Linked DNA regions of Homo sapiens: all the other regions are linked to region 1. Evidence: promoter capture Hi-C in 16 types of primary human blood cells and fetal thymus (Javierre and others, 2016). All regions are on one chromosome and are shown on one strand. Each heading gives the region's core, a stretch centred on a gene start or on the middle of the fragment in contact. The rest is flanking DNA. Distances are from core to core; before and after follow the strand shown.

What was found. Contacts are between HindIII fragments. The CHiCAGO score rates a contact against its expected background, and 5 or more counts as called.
Region 2: a fragment that was not itself captured here is called in contact with the fragment with the promoter of ZNF625-ZNF20 in region 1 in 1 of 17 cell types (erythroblasts); the score reaches 6.6 in erythroblasts.
Region 3: a contact is called between a fragment that was not itself captured here and the fragment with the promoter of ZNF625-ZNF20 in region 1, in 2 of 17 cell types (fetal thymus and M2 macrophages). The highest score is 5.6, in fetal thymus.

What each region holds. Positions count from the first base shown.
Region 1 is chr19:12,154,304-12,158,505 of GRCh38, reverse strand. ZNF625-ZNF20 (ZNF625-ZNF20 readthrough (NMD candidate)) reads left to right here and starts at 1,775. Exons shown (of 8, transcript NR_037802.1): 1 at 1,775-1,950. ZNF625 (zinc finger protein 625) reads left to right here and starts at 1,772. Exons shown (of 4, transcript NM_145233.4): 1 at 1,772-1,950. The coding sequence starts at 1,948. RefSeq lists enhancers at 1,746-1,855, 1,418-2,109 and a silencer at 2,086-2,255. The HindIII fragment of the contact is 6,672 bases long and covers 1-4,202 here.
Region 2 is chr19:12,475,512-12,479,713 of GRCh38, reverse strand. All of the region lies in intron 1 of ZNF709 (zinc finger protein 709), which reads left to right. Among named protein-coding and RNA genes, the nearest start is that of ZNF709, 7.2 kb to the left of the region's middle. The HindIII fragment of the contact is 6,195 bases long and covers 1-4,202 here.
Region 3 is chr19:11,836,038-11,840,239 of GRCh38, reverse strand. It overlaps the pseudogene VN2R13P. Among named protein-coding and RNA genes, the nearest start is that of ZNF439, 11 kb to the left of the region's middle. The HindIII fragment of the contact is 1,799 bases long and covers 895-2,693 here.

The DNA of each region.
Region 1 (4,202 bases), core at 526-3,025:
CTGAAATGGAGCCCCCCAGGGCGGGTCAGTCCCAGATGATGAGGCAGAGAAAATTAAGGATTTATCTGGGAGTTTGAAATGCCCTTCTGTCCCCTCCTCAGTTTAGAAATTATTCTCTCCTTTAAGACCTTCATTTTCACCAACAGGAAGCTCTCGACTTGAGTCAGTTTAAGCTAAATTTACTGTTAAATTCATAAACCCGCAGGGCGCGGTGGCTCACGCCTGTAATCCCAGCACTTTGGGAAGCCGAGGCGGACGGATCACGAGGTCAGGAGATCGAGACAATCCTGGCTAACACGGTGAAACCCCGTCTCTACTAAAAATACAAAAAATTAGCCGGGCGTGGTGGCAGGCGCCTGTAGTCCCAGCTACTTGGGAGGTTGAGGCAGGAGAATGGCATGAACCCGGGCGGGAGGCGGAGCTTGCAGTGAGCCGAGATTGCGCCACTGCACTCCAGCCCGGACGACAGAGCGAGACTCCGTCTCAAAAAAAATGATAATAAATACAATAAAATAAAATAATAAATAAAAATTCATAAACCCTTTCTCCAGGAGGCATCCCAAATGGGTCTTGCTCTAATTCTGACCTTCACAGATTTTCTTTTTCTTTTTCTTTCTTTTTTTTTTTTGAGACAGTCTAGCCCTGTCGCCCAGGCTGGAGTGCAGTGGCGCAATCTCGGCTCACTGCAAGCTCCGCCTCCCGGGTTCACGCCATTCTCCTGCCTCAGCCTCCCGAGTAGCTGGGACTATAGGCGCCCGCCACCGCACCCGACTAATTTTTTGTATTTTTAGTAGAGACGGGGCTTCTCCGTGTTAGCCAGGATGGTCTTGATTTCCTGACCTCGTGATCCGCCCGCGTCGGCCTCCCAAAGTGCTGGGATTATAGGCGTGAGCCACCGCTCCCGGCCGTAAAGATTTTTAAATAATAAAAACAGGGGTCTAGGGTGGGGGGATGTGGGAGGGATAACATTAGGAGATATACCTAATGTAAATGACGAGTTAATGGGTACAGCACACCAACATGGCGCATGTATACATATGTAACAAACCTGCACATTGTGCGCATGTACCCTAGAACTTAAAGTTTAATAAATAAAAATTAAAAAAAAAAAACAACAAAACAGGGGTATTCTTGTGTTGACCAAGTTGGTCTTTAACTCTTTACTTTAAGGGATCCTCCAGTCTTGGCCTCCCAAAGTGCTAGGATTACAGGCGTGAACCACCGCACCCTGCCTGTGTTCAGGTCACAATCTCTTCTAGCTTGGATAAAGGGAAAGAAATAAAGGGGGAGAGGGCATGGTTTCATCAATGGAGATTCTCTGCAGATGCAAATTCCCCCCCTCCAAAGACAGCTTTGCCAGTCCACTTTTTTTTGCGGCCGAGCCACAGCCATTTCAAAATCTGTCAAATAAATATATTTTGGCGTAAAATATTTTAATTTCCTTCACCTCCACTGGACTCTGAGTCTGGAATTTCCTGTGCAAGACAAAGGAGCAGGGACAGCCCATTGAGTGAGGAAGACAACGGTACCCCCTCTAGCAATTCGGAGCAAATTTGGCTGAAATGCAAATACCCAAAGAGCAAGACGCAGGGAGGGAGCTCGCTTAGATAATCTGTGGTTGGAACAGGTCATTTCGGTTCTGCCGGGCCTTGTTACCCAGGGCTTCCGCTGTCACTCAGGACCGATGGGACGGGGACTGGAGCCTCATCCAATCAGGGGCGCTGGGGCGGGGTCCTGCCAACTGTCCATCCGGGGAAGGGGAGGCCGCATTCCCGCTTTCCTGACTCCCAGGCGTCTTGCACCAAAGGGAGGTCGGGATCTCGGTTTTCCGGCCCCGAGAGGGACCAGGTGCCTCCGCCATAGCTTCTGTCGCTCCATCGCCCGCACTGTGACTGGACTGTTAGAGGGATCCGTGGAGAGGAGGCCAGGACACCTGGAAGCCGGGAAATGGTGAGTGTGCGGGGCCGGGGGTCCCGAGACGGGGGAGGGGCCGGGAGGAACCGGCTCGAACCGGCTCTAGCAGGACCCAGGCCTTCCTGCAGCGACTTCGGGTCTGCAGAGCGGAGTCCCCCTGGCGTAGCTCGGCCCTCGGTCCCTTCGGCCGCAGGGTGGGGTTGGGCCGGCAGCCGGGACCCCAGGCGTCCTGTCCCGTCTCTGCGCTGCGACTGCGACCCCGGCCCTGGCCCCGGCCCCGGAGCCCTCTCTGGGGAGCTCCGCGCCCGTAGTCCCGCGTCTCCCCAGATTGTGCGGAGACCACGGGAGGGTCATGGAGGCAATCCTGCCTCGGGTGTGTGGTTCGTGTGGGAGGAGCGGTGGGCTGCGGGGTCCCCAGTCCCCCCTTTTTTCCTGAAAAACTAAATTGAAGGCCAGGCGCAGTGGGTCACGCCTGGCAGGTTGAGGCGGGGGGATTGCTTCAGCCCAGAAATTCGAGACCAGCCTAGGCAACATACCGAGACCCTAGTTTCTATTAAAAATAAATTTTTAAAAAATGAGCCGGGCGTGGTGCCGCCCACCTGTAATCCCAGCTACTGGGGGGCTGAGGTGGGAGGATCGCTTGAGGGAGGAGATTGGGACTGCAGTGAGCCGAGATCGCGCCACTGCACTCCAGCCTGGGCGACTGAGCGAGACCCTGTCTCAAACAAAACAAAACAAAAACAACAGCAACAAACTAAACTGAGTCCTCTTAAAAATTAAAGAGTTTTGCTTCTCAGAATAGGAGTTTGAAAAAAATGAATGAGAAATGTTTCCTGAATGAGAAACACCCAGTCATGGCTTGCAGTTTGATAACGGAAAGAGCAAAACTCTGCAAAATAACTTGAACTATGTTCTACGCCGAATATGAGAGAACGTGACCAAGGGAAACAACCGCATGTAGCCTCGAGTAAGTGGTCCCCAGGAGGTTCGATGGCAGTTTGGTTTTATTCATTTCAGCGAGACAGGAATTGCAGGGAAAAGATCAATCAAGGCATGGAAGGCTGACAGGGCAGGACACGTAGAAGCGGGGCTTAGAAGGCACAGGTGGTTGAGGGATTCTGTAGTTGGCAGTTGGCTGAGAGTGTGAAGTTGTGTCTAAAATTTGAAAGGGGTAGGAAGGAATGTTTAAGTGAAGGGAGTCTGTTACCTGCCACGTGATTCCATCCCCACCAAAAAACAGATATGTTTCACTAGATTTTATGAATTCTAAGGCGTGACTTTACCCTTGCCTTGCATGGCCTTAGGTCTTGTTTGCAATTTAGTATTTATTGGTACAAAGGGTTTCTTTGCAGGTTTTTTTTTTTTTTTGAGATGGAGCCTCACTCTCGCCCAGGCTGGAGTGCAGTGGCGCAATCTCGGCTTACGGCAACCTCCGCCTCCTAGGTTCAAGCAATTCTCCTGCCTCAGCCTCCCAAGTAGCTGGAATTACAGGTGCACGCCACCATACCCGGCTAATTTCTGTATTTTTAGTAGAGATGGGGTTTCACCATGTTGGCCAAGCTGGTCTCAAACTCCTGACCTCAAATAATCCGCCTGCCTCCGCCTCCCTCCGCCTCCCAAAGTGCTAGGATTACAGGACTGAGCCACTGTGCCCGGCCTCTTTGCAGGTCTTATGTCTATTTTAATATGAATGTGGGTCAGTTGCTGTGTCTAAACTCCAGAAGGGAGTATGGAGTGTCTGATCTCCCTTACTAATGTAACTGGGAACTTTCAGGTTTTTGGGGGGCCTCCCCTTGGTAAAGAGCCACTCAGTTGACTTGATTGGGGTGGGATGGGGAGCTTAGGTTTTTATTTTTAGTTTACAGGTTGAAGGATAGGCTTTTATATGGTGCATTAGAATAAAAATCAAAAAATACTTTATTGGTTACAGTGATGTAGTCGCCTTGTTTGGATTTTTCTACCTTAAATGATTGAAATGATCAGATTCCTATTATAAGGAGATTATTTAAGTGAAAATCTGAGAATTGCCATTCAAGAAAATACAGACTCTAGGGAAATGGGCTTAGAACTCCGGAGCTAAAAGTTAAACTCTTGACCTAGTGCAGTGTCCCACACCTGTAATCCCAGCTTTGTGAGGCTGAGGCAGGATGATTGCTTGAGACCAGGAGTTGGAGACCAGCCTTGGTAATACAAGACCCATGTCTAGAAAAGAAAAATAGAAAAATTAGACAGGTGTGGTTGCACCCACCTGTAGTTCCTGATACAAGGGACACTGAGGCAGGAGGATC
Region 2 (4,202 bases), core at 1,198-3,697, 320 kb before region 1:
GTATTTTAGTAGAGACGAGGTTTCACCATGTTGGCCAGGATGGTCTCGATTTCCTGATCTCGCGATCCACCTGCCTTGGTCTCCCAAAGTGCTAGGATTACAGGCGTGAGCCATCGCACCCGGCCTGGATTAAGTCTTAGGATTGTTTCATACGTAGAAAATTTTAATCAAAATTTAAAAAGCAAAAGTAAGTTGATTAAAAATGAAGATTATTAAGTAGTAAAATATGGCTTATTTAAATTTAGCTGTTTATTTTAAAGAAATCATGCATGTGGAAGTTAGAAAAAAATCCACAATAGTTGAGTCTAACTTGAAAAGACTCACTGCCAGCATATTCTGGTCCAGTCCAGCCAGGGCACTTGCTCTAGCCACCCCCCAAATACTCACTTTTGATAATTTTTTATTTTTTTTGAGATGGGGTCTTGTTCTGTTGCCCAGGCTGGAGTACAATGACATGATGATAGCTCATTGCAGCCTCAACCTCCTGGGCTCAAGTGATCTTCCCACCTCAGCCTCTTCAGTAGCTGGGACTACAGGTGTGTGCTGCCACTCCCAGCTAATTTTTAAATTTTTTGTAGTGATGGAGTCTTACTATGTTGCTCAGGCTAGTCTTGAACTCCTGGGCTCAGGCAATCCTCCTGCCTCAGCCTGTCAAAGCACTGGTGTTATAGGTATAAACCACTGTGCCTGGCCTTTTAATAATTTCTTAAGCATACTGTCAGTGTTTCTTTTTATAAAAATAAGCAATTGCAAATGCATGTTTTTCATACTCATGTTGGTTCTGTAATGAGTAGTTGGACTCTGCATGTTTTGATTTTGGCTGTGCACATCATAAGCGTCACCCTTCTCTCTTCTCCTCGTGCTGCACACCTGGGCAAGCTGAAAAAGTCTGGGAGCAGGAAATTCAAACCACAGAAGCTCCTGCCCTTGAGCAGGTACTCTCTTGTAGCCCCACCCCCAAACTACAATAAAAACCCAGGCCAGGAGGCTTTCTTTGCTCTCTGAAGCTATGTCACACCTGCTTGGGCAGCCTGCCCTGCTTTCCCCAAGACCTCAATGATCACAGTAGTGAGTCTTTTCATACCCTTTGGTGTCTGTTCTCCACGCTGTTATTAGTGTCAACATTGGAACGACACAGGAATTGTTACCATGAGCATGGTGTTCAGACATTGACTGTCACCCCATGGGTCTGTCTTCTCTTGCACTGAATTGCTACCTGCTCTGTTGCCTGATGGCCAGCATGCACTTTCAGCTGCTGCTTTCTGGGAAGCTACTACTTTGAGTTGTGCTACTCTGTGCTGCATGTTGAGCCCTGCCAAGTCTGGGTTCTATGTTTAGCCAACTGGAGTTGGCCGTTTTGATAATTCCTTGGCTTTTTTGAAGAGGAATATGAGATTTGATACTCCTTAAAGTGGTCCTGGGTAGTGTTTCTTGGCCTGGACTTATCTGTGTGTTTTAGAGTGAAGCTGTGACTGCTGCTGACCTGGCATACAAGGTGCTCATGGGAAAGACTACCTGCCAGAGCAGTCATTTTTGAAAAAGAGACAAAAGAGAGGGGGAAAGGCAGCTGTTAGATGGTGGGCCGAGTCCACACTCCTAATAGCACAGGGCTCCCAAGGACCCTTAAGTGTTGCTGCTGTTGCTCTATTGCAGCAAGGATGCTGACCCTCAGGATTATAGGGCACACTCATGTTTCCTCTGCAGCATTGCAAAGGGTTCATTCAAAGCCAGCTTAAGGCCCAGGTGCTTAAACTTTATAAAGCAACCATGAGGGACAGGCCCCTAAGCCTGATAATAGTGATTTGTGGCTCTCTGGAGGGAAAAGAACACCCCTCCCCTGTAGAGAGGATTTTGCTGTCAAAATATATCCAGGGACAAAAACAAAAACAAAACAAACATGTTAGGAAGGAAAGGAACAAAAGAAAAAAATGCTGAAAAAGAGGTCCACAATTTGACCCAATTGGAAATTCCAAATAGACTAAAGGAATTTAGACGGCAAAAAAGATAAAAGAGCCTCTATATCATAGGTTCTGTATTAATTTTAACATCTTATGTAATGTATTAATTAACACACTATAGGATTAGCCAATACAAGGGCTCAAATTATGGTTATACCTGGGAGACCCACTAAAATTTAAGCAAGGTATCCCCTGATAATCTTAAGGGAGTTACTGAATATAAAATAGAAGACAAATAAGTATGTCTCATCTTAGCCATCATAACTGTGCCTAAATTCCCCATGTTCATGGCACCCAGTGTCCTAAAATACGCCAGAATGAACAGGTAAACTCTAAACCAGTGAGTCATAAGTGAAATTTAAATTAAATCTTTGGCACTTACAAACTGGCTTGACAGAATGAGACCCTGTGGAACTTACTCCCCAGTTAAATTAGTTATGATGGCTCAATATAAATTGAACAGGGCCTTGAAGGGTTGAAAAGTATTATGTAAAACTTGTTTAGTGAGGAAGTGATTATTCCCCGTGCTTCTCGTTTTAAAAGTACAGTTTGGCCTTTCTTAAACTTGGAGAGAATGAATGGCAACCCACAATGGATTACCATAACCTTAATGCTGTGGTCCCACCCATTAAGCCCCTATACCAATATCCAACATGGAAATTACTGACACCATCCAGCTGATCTCACAGATTTCACCATCTCACAGGCTAATTATATAACTTTACCTAGTTTCCCAAGGGAACCTCAACAGCCTTGCTGTTGCACAGTCTTTGCAGGCAAAATCTGAACTGCATCCACCTTTCTCTAGAACACAGGTATGATATTACATTAATGACAGCCTTGTCTGAGGACATTGTTTTGGCATTCATTCAGGACACATAAATACTGAAAAAAAAAATAGAGCTTACAAAAAGTCCATTGCCCCATATATAAAATAAGAGACCTTTATGTTTTGGTTAAGTTCCTAAAAACCATTTGGTAAAAGGAGGGCCGCTCCATCCCTGACACTACTATGAAATAGCTATTGTCCCTCTGACTACCCACAGCATCTTCTAGGTTCTTTTGATGTTCTGGAGGCAACATATTCCTTGTTTATAAATTTTACTTAACCACTTTATGCTGTTAATTGCAAATTGGCCCACCTTAAGTGGGTCCCCCTACCGCAAAAGGCTCTAGAGTCTTTTTCATTCTCTTAACACAGAGCTTTCATAGAGAAGGAGCTTTTGCATTTTAATGAAGTCAAACTTACTGATTTATTTTGTATGGATTTTGCTTATATCTAAACATTTGTCACCAAACCCAGGGTCACCTAGATTTTCTTCATTAACTTTTAGTATCCTATAACTTTACTTTTTTTTTTTTTTTTGAGGCAAGTTCTCCCTCTTGCCCAGGCCAGAGTGCAGTAGTGCAATCTTGGCTCACTGCAGCCTCAACCTCCTGGGCTCAAGCACTCCTCCCACTTCAGCCTCCTGAGTAGGTGGGACTACAAGCGTGCACCACCACACCTGGCTAATTTTTGTATTTTTTGTAGAGATGGGGTCCTACTTAGTTGCCCAGGCTGGTCTCAAACTCCTGACTTCAAGCTATCCTCCTGCCATGGCCTCCCAGAGTGCTGGGATTACAGGCATGAGCCACTGCTCCTGGCCTAGATTTTACATTTAGTTCTGTGATCCATTTTGAGCCAGTTTTTGTTTAAGGTGTAACGTCTGTTTCTAGATTTGTGTTTTTTTCATTGTGTTTTGCATGTGGATGTTCAGTTTTTCCAACACTGTTTGTTGAAAAAGGCTATCTTTTTTCATTGAATTGCTGTTGGTCATTTGTTGAAAATCAGATGACTCAGTGAGTCTATACTATACTAATGTGAGTCTGTAAGAAGGCAATTGACTTTTGTATATTAAGATTATATCCTCAACCTCTAGTTTGAGGAGTTTGTTGTGGATTCTTTGAGATTTTCTACTTAGACAATCATGTCACATGCGACAAAGACAGTGATATTTCTTTGTTCCCAATCTATATCTCTTCTCTCCTCTCCTCCCCTCTCCTCTCATTAGTTACACTTTGAGTACAATCTGTTGAGTAGGAGTGGTAAGAGGGGACATCTTTGCCCATTTCCTCATCTTACCAGGAAAGCATCTATTTTCTCACTATTAAATATGATATTAGCTGCAGGTTTCCTATAAATACTGCTTCTCAAAAAGAGGAAAGTCTATCTCCAGTTTCTTATCATAAATGCATGTTGGATTT
Region 3 (4,202 bases), core at 545-3,044, 320 kb after region 1:
TTTAGTAGAGATGGGATTTCGTCATGTTGACCAGATTGGTCTCGAACTCCCGACCTCACATGATTTGCCCACCTTGGCCTCCCAAAGTGCTGGGATTATAAGTGTGAGCCAATGCGCCTGGTGTGAGCTTTCAATGACCTCTCTTTGTAGGCTTGTCATTGGCCTTAGCTTGCAGTCCCTGGACTCAGGCCTCTGTTTCAATGAGAAAATACCCACTGTTTGAAGAATCCAGCAAAATCTCTCAAACTCAGTTTATGTTTACAGGCAGGCAGGAATTTATAAGGCACTTACCTTTCATCCTCATCAGGGAAAATAAAAGTATCTAACCCTTTCAGTCAATAAACATATTGAGAAATGTGTTTACACTACTATGTAATTGCTCCTTCCCTGTGCATGTCAAAAAGATTCTCTTCCTTGTTCTTAGGCTGTAAATGATTAGAAAAGACAGAGAAGTGCCAGAGGTAGGATCCTTTTGAGACCACTACCCCTCCTTACAAAAAGTTAAAGCAGGCCGGCTGCAGTGGCTCACACCTGTAATCCCAGCACTTTGGGAGGCCGAGGCAGGCGGATCATGAGGTCAGGAGTTTGAGACCAGCCTGACCAACATGGTGAACTCCGTCTTTACTAAAAATACTAAAATTAGCCGGGCATGGTGGCACGTGCCTGTAATCCCAGCTACTCAGGAGTCTGAGGCAGGAGAATTGCTTGAACCCGGGAGGTGGAGGTTGCAGTGAGCTGAGATTGCGCCATTGCACTCCAGCCTGGGCGACCGAACAAGACTCCATCCAAAAAAAAAAGTTAAAGCAATCATCCTTGAAATTTGGTAGCTGCAACCTATCAAATCACTGAAATGTGTGCACCGGCCTTGTATGGAAAATGTCACCCTGTTAAGCTTCATTTTGCCCTATAGAAGAGAAGACTCAAATTCCCCGTGTTGGAGCACTGACCCCACTCTTCAGGATATCTGTTTCCCCAGTGGCTATCCTCAAACTATGTGCTCAGATAAACTCAGCATTTAATCATATTCTCTGAATCTTATTATCTTATTAAGGTGCACAATATTATTTCATTATTATTTCCATGATAACAAAGCACATACTACACATTAATCATATGTGAACACAAACATATGACAACAGTTGCCAGCCAGGTCTTACCCCACAGATAACAGGAAGAAGAAGAGTTATCCACCATTACAAGTTCCCCAACCTGCAAAGGAGGACTGGTATTTTGCTGAATCTTTGTAATTCACCAATTTATCTACTATACTTTATTGTGGAAGATTATTCATTTTCTCAAGCTGTAATAAAAGATTTTCTCTATTTCTTTTCCCAATCAGCATTCTCAACGCTATGCCCTGAAACTCTGTTACAAATCATCCAAAAATGGCCATGCACTGTGGCTCAAACTTGTAATACCAGCACTTTGGGTGTAGTGGTGTGTGCCTGTGGTCTCAGCTACTACGGAGGCTGAGGTGGGAGGATAGCTTGTGCCTGGAAGATGGAGATTGCAGTGAGCTGAGATTGTGCTACCTCATCCCAGTCTGGGCAACAAAGCCAGACCCTATCTTAAAAAAAAAAAAAGGAAAGAAAGAAAGAAAAAGAAATAAAGAAATCATCCACAAAAAAGGACAGACTTAAGAAATGTACTACACCACATCTGAAGAAGAAAAAAATTAAGAATTTTGAGACTGGGTGCGGTGGCTCACGCCTGTAATCCCAGCACTTTGGGAGGCCAAGGCTTGTGGATAACAAGGCCAGGAGTTCGAGACCAGCTTGGCCAATATCGTGAAACCCCATCTCTACTAAAAATACAAAAATTAGCCAGGTGTGGTGGCACGTGCCTGTGATCCCAGCTACTCAGGAGGCTGAGGCAGGAGAATCACTTGAACCCAGGAGGCAGAGGTTGCAATGCCCCGAGATCACACCAATGCATTCCAGCCTGGGTGAGAGAGCGAGACTTTGTCTCAAAAAAAAAAAATTTTTTTTTTGAAACAAATGCTATATAAGACTAATGATTTATTTCTGACATCTATTTTTATCTTGGCTCTGTGCAAAATTTTCTTATTTTTCCAGCTGTAGTGAAAATGCAATTTACAATTAATTTTAAAAATCTGAAGCTGCAATAAGTGAACAAATATATATATATATATATATATATTTTTTTTTTTTTTAGAAGGGCTCTCACTCTGTGGCCCAGGCCGGAGTGCAGTGCTGCAATCACAGTTCACTGCAGCATCAATCTCCCAGGCTCAGGTTATCCTTCTGCCTCAGCCTCCTGGATAGCTGGGAGTACAGGTACGTGCCACCATATCCAGCTAATTTTTTGTATTTTTTGTAGAGAAGAGGTTTTGTCATGTTGCCATGGCAGGTCTTGAGCTCCTGGGCTCAAGTGATCCTCCTTCCTTGGCCTCTGTGAGCCACTGTGTCCAGCAACAAATAATTCTTTACAAGGGAACAAACCCTGTCTGGGTATGGCGGCTCATGCTTGTAATCCTAGCACTTTCGGAGACTGAGCTGGGAGGATTGCTTGAGAAAAAGAATTAGATAACAGCCTGGGCAACATAGCATAATCCTGTCCCTATTACTTAAAAGTCTAAATAAAAGTCTGAAAAGCAGCATTTCCCACCTATTCTCTATGAGGGAGCCTTCATCTACATAACAAGGTCTCCTTAGCTACACAGGAGGTAAGCTTCTTCCTTTCCTCTTCCCTAATCTGTCTTGCCATTAAACCTGACTTACCCACCAAACCCGGGATTTTTTGGCCAGCCAAGTCTGCATTCTTTCTTGGCCTCAGAATGGTAATATAAGCTTTTTTGTCTTATTGTTGGGTGGGTCTTCATTCTGAAGGCTCCCATATATACATGTTAAATAAATTTGTATGACTCTTCTCCTATTAATCCAAGTTCCATGATCTGAAAAAATTTTTCCTGTCTTTTCACCTTATTTTATAAAAAAAGTGCAAGACCATGTATATCTAAAAATGAGCATTTTTGTATCTCAGAAATCAAGATATTTTCCATATATAACCAGAAAATGGTATTCATATTTAAAAATGTCCTAATATCAACACATTGAGGGATATTAAAACATCATTAATAGCGTAAAGTGGAATTCTGGAAGCTTAGCTTTGAATACATTTCATTTTGTCTGTTAAACATTGAAGAGAGTATGTGGTGTTAGGATATGTATTTGGTTTTCATCTAGGGTAATAATGTTGGGTATGTTAGGCCTCCGGGAAAGTCCTTGACCTTCTGCTGCCCTCCTTCCACTCTAATGTTTCCCCACCTTTTTGATTGTGGGTCTTAAAACCCTCCCATGAGAGGGTCCCACTGACTTCATGAAGTTTTTTCCTACAGAGTGTAGCCTTGGAAATACTCATTATATACCCTATCTGTAGCTGTGTGTCTGAAGGTAGTTCCAGAATAAACCATGAGTGTGAGGATTGCTTAAATAACTTATTTCTAAATGCTGAAACAAAAATTTCAGATTTCCTTGTCTAACCAGATGCAGAAAAGCATATGTTATAGATAAAGCATCAGGACTCAAGCAGGCACCAATGTCCCTGACTTTCAAAATTAGTGGCCTTCCTGGCATGTGAACACCCTTTGGGCCTGTGCTCCAGTGTCCTCTTTGGGGTGCTCCTTGGGCTCTTTGTGAAGCATCAAGACACCCCCATAGTCTAGGCCGATGTCAGGCTCTCCAGTGTGTCCTGTTCATCACCCTCAGCCTGCATTTTCATTGTCATTGTCATTGGCCATTCCAACACTGTGTTTGCATCCTGTGGAAAGTCACATTTGGGGTCAAGTGAATGGTGTTGTTTCTACTCTTTGGTGAAAAGTATCAGGGTGTATTTGGCCTTCAAGGGAGAAGGATGAGGCAGGGGTTGGATTCAGGTGCATCCAACTCTTTCTTTTTTTCTTCTGGAGACAGAGTCTCGCTGTGTCGACTAGGCTGGAGAGTGCAATGGTGTGATCTCAGTTCACTGTAACCTCTGTCTCCAGGCTCAAGCCATTCTCCTGCCTCAGCATCCTGATTAGCTGGGATTACAGGCACACACCACGATGCCCAGCTAGTTTTTGTATTTTTAGTAGAGACAGGGTTTCACCATGTTGACCAGGCTTGTCTTGAACTCCTGACCTCAAGTGATCCACCCGCTTTGGACTAGCAAAGTGGTGGGATTACAGGTGTGAGCCACTGTGC